Regions from separate parts of the Homo sapiens genome. Here region 2 is linked to region 1. The links are contacts of gene promoters, found by promoter capture Hi-C in blood cells and fetal thymus (Javierre and others, 2016). All regions are on one chromosome and are shown on one strand. Each heading gives the region's core, a stretch centred on a gene start or on the middle of the fragment in contact. The rest is flanking DNA. Distances are from core to core; before and after follow the strand shown. Region 1 holds the start of SH3GL3 (SH3 domain containing GRB2 like 3, endophilin A3). Region 2 overlaps ADAMTSL3 (ADAMTS like 3).

The links. The method cuts DNA at HindIII sites, captures the fragments that hold promoters and counts their contacts. A CHiCAGO score of 5 or more calls a contact.
Region 2: a fragment that was not itself captured here is called in contact with the fragment with the promoter of SH3GL3 in region 1 in 1 of 17 cell types (M2 macrophages); the score reaches 5.3 in M2 macrophages.

Annotation. Positions count from the first base shown.
Region 1 is chr15:83,445,802-83,448,822 of GRCh38, forward strand. It overlaps SH3GL3 (SH3 domain containing GRB2 like 3, endophilin A3), which reads left to right and starts at 1,540. Exons shown (of 9, transcript NM_003027.5): 1 at 1,540-1,777. The coding sequence starts at 1,733. RefSeq lists an enhancer at 1,236-1,395. The HindIII fragment of the contact is 8,141 bases long and covers 1-3,021 here.
Region 2 is chr15:84,030,668-84,033,627 of GRCh38, forward strand. It overlaps ADAMTSL3 (ADAMTS like 3), which reads left to right. Exons shown (of 30, transcript NM_207517.3): 28 at 668-765. Among named protein-coding and RNA genes, the nearest start is that of GOLGA6L4, 200 kb to the right of the region's middle. The HindIII fragment of the contact is 1,662 bases long and covers 461-2,122 here.

The sequences.
Region 1 (3,021 bases), core at 290-2,789:
TGGAGCATGGAGAAAGAGGAAGCTGAGCAGCCCTGAATAGCCTAGGACAAGAGAGACCTGCCAATCCTGGACTCCAGCTGCAGCTGGCTCTCTGCCTTATGTAGTGGTTGGCCTGCGGTGAAGCCCACTGTTGAGAGGCATTTGAACTGTTGTATGGACAGGTCATCTTGCTACGCCATTCTGACCCAGCTGTCACCACCCTCACACTTTTTAGTTATCTATCAGTGGCTGGTGTCAGGCAGGTAAGCCCACAACACTCACCCAAGTCATGCTCATTAACCCTCTGACTGGCTGCCCTTATCCCACGATCTCCACTAAGTTCAAGCATTTTTTCCCCAGTATCAGAGGAGGAACACTGTTTATTCCAGTCTACATGCTTCAAGTAGAAGTGAGGAAACCAAGGCCCAGAGAGGTGTGTACTTACTTGCCCAGTCCTCACTAGGATGAAGTCAGGGTTAGGACTAGCCCCGACTGGGCGCTGGGAGCTAACAGCTAGGGGAGGAACTGCATGACTTTTGTCCTGGAGAAATGTTATGGCAGGTGGACACCAGGGCACAGGCATATACCCGAAGTGTCCAGGGCAGACAGGGACTGCTCGTCACCCCAGATGGGACCTGCTAAGGGCCCAAAAAGAGACTGAAGGTGGGAAATGTTTTTGTTTTTCAGTGTGAAGCGTTGCCAAACATATATTCTAGGTTTGGGAATCCTCGGGACCTTTGGAAGCCAGATTCAGCGAAGATGCTGTACCTTTTGGGGATAGCTCTAACACGAGGTTAACGCAATGCTCCATGTCCCTGGCTGGGCTTAGCTGTGAGTGCGTCGACCTCTGGACTCTGTGCAAATGGACACTCTGTAACTGACACAGCTGGTAGGGGTTACCGAGAGAGCTGGGTTCCTGGTCTGGTGGACTCCGCCGGATATGCAACGAGCTCTTTATGGCACCTTGGAGATGGTTGCTTTTAGTGCCGTTGACAGCGGGCTCAGAGCACCAAGTGAGCTAGCACCGTATTTATTAGTAAATTACTCCATAACTCTAGGGCTCCCAGAAGACCAAAATCATTTGAGCAGATTGCACCCAGAGCACCGCGTGGAGAGAGAAGAAAGCCCGCCACCCACAGACCGCTTCCTCCTACCACAGGTCCCCCATCGAGTTGCATTTGTTGTCCCTCCCTAGGCGCATTTCTGAGCCTTCCTTTCTTAAACATACACCGAGCGAAAATGCGCCGGAGGGAGGCGATGTTGCCTGTGAGCCAAAGCCGGTTCGGCACCAAGACAGAAGCAGAGAGAACTGATCTCTCTCCCGGTACCCATGACAATCTCAGAGCTAGATCTATATCGTCCCGCGCCCAGCAAGAAGCACTGTGTGACTGTACTCCCCCGACCCCCAGGACATCCCCACGCCCAGCTTCCCAGGCCGGTCTTCTGCGCGGCTCAAGTAGCCCAGGTCTCCACGCAACAATGAAGCGTGGGCGGCCCCAGCAGCTTCATTTGCATATCGCCGCGGCTTGGCCAATGGGCTGCGCAGGGGCTTTGGAACGCAGTGTTGCCATCGGCGTGCGCGCGTGTGTGCGAGTGTGACAGCGGCTGTGGCTGTGGCCGTGGCCGTGGGAGGCGGGCCCGGCGGAGCCCAGCCGCGGGGGGACCGGCCCGGGCTCCCGCTCCCCGAGCGCGTCGCGGCCGCGTGGCCCAGCCGAGCCTTGAGACCACCCCGCCCCTGCCGGTCGCAGTCGCGATGTCGGTGGCCGGGCTGAAGAAGCAGTTCCACAAAGCCAGCCAGGTAGGGAGGCGCAGAGGAGGGAAGGAGGGAGGGGGACGCGGAGGCTGCGGCCCCCCGAGGCTCCCGGGCCTTTGGGACTCCTGTTCCCTGAAGGGCCTCTCTCGGGGCTCAATTTCTTCCCGCCTAGGAGGGCGCGAGGGTGGGGTGAGGGGCCGCCTGCTCTCTCCTCGGCGTCTTGGCGCCTTCTCCTTCCCATTCCCTGGCCCCCGGCTCTGCCCTGGGCCGTTGTAAATCGGAGAGATTCTGCGGAGCGGAGGGCAGAGGTGGCGGCCGCGGGGACTCGGGAGGCGGAGACGGAGTGGGCGTGGGGGGGCCCCTACCCGCGCGAGGGGAGGACGACCACAGGGAGTACGATGCCGGCAGGGCCTCCCCCGAGTCTCCAGCCGTTTGGTTGGGAGAGCCTCGTGGGGGGCCCATCCTCCACCGGCCACCGGCGCCTCCAGAGATGCTGTGTATTTGGCGCTTGGCTGTGTCCCGCTGAGCTCCCCGCGCGCGCATCGAAATGGCCCCGTCTGGACTGTGCCCGGCTCCCCGGCTGGGGCTCTCTACCGCGGTCCTTCCCCTCCCCACCGTCTTCCCGGTGTCGGCCCGGGGCTGGGCATCACGCTTCTGCTCTTACAGAGCTGACAGCCTGCAGGGGAGACACGGAGACAGACACGTAAACAAACAGTGCTAGACACACCTCCACGCACAGAGGATGACAAATAACACAGTGGGGGCGTCAGGGAGAGCTTCCCGGAGGAGGAGACATGTCATTTGAGAATTAAGTATGAGGAAGAATTATGGCTGAGGGTGTGGGATGATAGGAGGAAAGCCGTTCTGAGCAGAGGAAACAGGAAAACAGGAGGGGAGACATGAAATTGATGTGTGTGTGTGTGTGTGTGTGTGTGTGTGTGTGTGTGTTGATGACAAGCAAATTTGTTTTTCAACATCAACATTGCAGGCTCTTCCAGCTATGGCAGAGCTCACGTTGTAAAACCTGTTCCCCACCAGCACCGCTGGGTCTGTTGCTTCTCACCACCTCTCCCCGCAACCCCAGCCCCCATTTTGCTAGAGCCAGGGTAGACAGATTTCATTCAACGTCCACATTTGTGGTGAGGTCTCATCCTGCTTCTCCCACAAATTGGCCCATAGAAAGCAACTGCAATTAGAAGATTCTCTTCTTCTAGCCCCAGTTCCAGGCTGAAAGGCACTGCTGTCCCCTCACTCACACTCTTTCCATATGGAAACTGGGTGATGCTGTT
Region 2 (2,960 bases), core at 42-2,541, 580 kb after region 1:
TGTTGGGAAGGCATGAATGCTTTTGAAATGTGAAAGGGACATGAGATTTGGGAGGGGCCACGGGCAGAATGATATGGTTAGGCTTTTTGTCCTCACCCAAATCTCATCTTGAATTTTAATCCCCACAATCCCCACATGTCAAGGGAGAGACCAGGTGGAGGCAGTTGGATCATGGCGACAGTTTCCCTCATGCTATTCTCATGATAGTGAGTGAGTTCTCACAAGATCTGATTGTTTTATAAAGGGGGCTCTTCTCCCTTCACTTGGCACTTCTCCTCTTTGCCGCTTGTGAAGAAGGTGCCTTGTTTCCCCTTCACCTTCTGACATGATTGTAAGTCTTCTGAGGCTTCCCCAGCCATGCTGACTGTGAGTCAATTAAACCTCTTTCCTTTGTAAATTACCCAGTCTCGGGTATGTCTTTAGAGCAGTGTGAAAATGGACTAATACAGAGGGGATGGTAAGCTTAGGCAGTTTCTTCCTGACTCTGAAAAAGAGGTGTCTGGTCCACAGAGCTGTACCCTAATCCTCTTTAACTCCCCCCTGGGGACAGTTGGTTACAGTCCCCTTGTAATAGGTCTTCAGCTATCCTGCCTCAGTACATGATCTTAGTACACACAGCATGGATGAGCTTGCAGGATTTACACTGCACTGTGCTTTTTTGTTCCAGTGTCCTGGACGTTGCATGGGCCGTGCTGTGAGGATGCAGCAGCGTCACACAGCTTGTCAACACAACAGCTCTGACTCCAACTGTGATGACAGAAAGAGGTAGGGGCCCCACCCCAGAGCAGCACACATTCTCTCCTGACTCACTCAGGACAATGATTATAACTGCCTGAAAATGGAATCCTTTCTAGTTTCTACCAACTCTCATAATTGACAGTTTTCAATTATGATTTATTTAGTGTCATCTTCAATAGTATATATTATACTGAAATACTAGTTAATGTGCACTATTTATAACTATAAATTGTTTGGATGTTAAACAATAAAGGGACACCACTCTATGTGGTAAAAGGGGAAAAGGATATCATTGAGAAAACGGAGATACTTCTCCCTCTATATACTAAGTTAATCAAGCCTAATAATATTCCATTTAGGCTTACAGATTAAATCTTCTTAATGCTTTTAATGAACTGCTTTATTTCTCTGTTTAGAAAATGTTTTGATTAGGATATTGTCACAGTGGTTGGCAGATAGTAAAATAAACTTTAATCTTGTTGAGGAGGTTAAATAAGGGTGGAGTTTGCTTTCCTCCTTTTATAAAAGTCTGAGCTGGTAGATGGTTTAGGGATAGAAGAGCTTTTTTCATGGGGTCATCCAGAGATCCAGATGCCCTCCATCTGGCAGCTCTACCATCCAAGAGAACAGCACCCCAGCCAGCAGAAAGTGGGGAGAGAGCCTAGAAGGCACACTAATCGGGGGCTTGGGAGTTCTATTATATCACTCACTTACTGTGTGACCCTGGACTGCCTAGCCACCTAATCTGCAAAGTGGGATATTATCATCCATGTGAACTTATGTTTAGAAAGTTTTAATGATTTAGCTTAGTGTGAAACACGAGGCAGCCTGGGTCATGGAAGATGCTCAATATCTGGCTATTTCTTCCTTTTCCATGTCCTGAGTCTTGCTGGAGAAAATGAGATGACCTTGACAGTTGGCTGGGTTACCATTTTGAGCCTTCAGTAAGGTTTGGCAATGTAGGGTCAGTTGCATTTCCTATTCCCCACAAAGTGATTTCAAGCCAAAACCATTCTCCTCAAATGGAAAATGTTTGGAACGGCTGCTCTCATTCTCAACAGACAACCTAAGTTTCCTATTTTCCTGAGAAGATACAGACCACACACAGATTGATATGCATCATCCCAGGTGCTTTACTTTGCATTCACAAAGATATACTTAAAGCACAAATACATACATGGGTCACATACATATTTTTCTGAAACTTGCTTTTTCTACCTAAGAATATATTATAGATAATTCCCATCAAGTAAAGATTAACTTTATTCTTTTTAATTTTGTACTTAATACTCTATTCTACTCAATATTCTATCTAAATTTTGTACTTAATATTCTGTTGCTAATGGACATTGGATAGTTTCAAACTTTTTGCTATTATAAACTAAGCTTCAGTAAATATCCTGGAACATATATCTTTGGGTACAAAGGGTAATATTTTTATAGAGTAGATTTTTAGATAATGGAATTGAATTGGTAGGAATGCTCATTTTGATGCTATCAAATTGCCATCAAAATTTCTATGCCAGCAATATGTGAGAGTTGCCCCCTTTTCATCAACATGATATAGGTTTGCAGTCTTTTAAAATTTTTGCCAATCTGATGGATGAAAATTTATCTCATTGTAATGTGTACTTTCCTGATTACTTTTTTATATGATTTTTTATTCCTTATATTTTTTTTCTTGAACTCATCTTCATTTTTTCTTTTCTGCCACCATTACCCTTGGCCAAACCACCATCGTATCTCACCTGGTATACTGTCACAGCTGTCCAACTGGTCCCCCTTCATCCATCCATGCTCCTTTCCAACCCAGTCTCCACAGTACAGCCAGAGTGAGTTTTCCCAGATGCAAATCTGATCCTACCACCACCACAACCCATCTCCCTGCTAGACTAAAATTACTTTAGAGGTTTTACTTGCTCTTAGGAAGATTGACCAAATCCTCAATGTGACCTATAAAATACCACATGCTTGGCTGGGCATGGTGGCTCACACTTGTAATCCTAGTACTTTGGGAGGCTGAGGCAGGCAGATCACTTGAAGTCAGGAGTTTGAGACCAGCCTGCCAACATAGTGAAACCCTGTCTCTACTAAAAATACAAAATTAGCTGGGCATGGTTGCACATGCCTGTGATCCCAGCTATTTGGGAGGCTGAGGCAGGAGAATTGCTTGAACCTGGGAGGTGGAGGCTGCAGTGAGCCAAGATCACACCACTGTACTC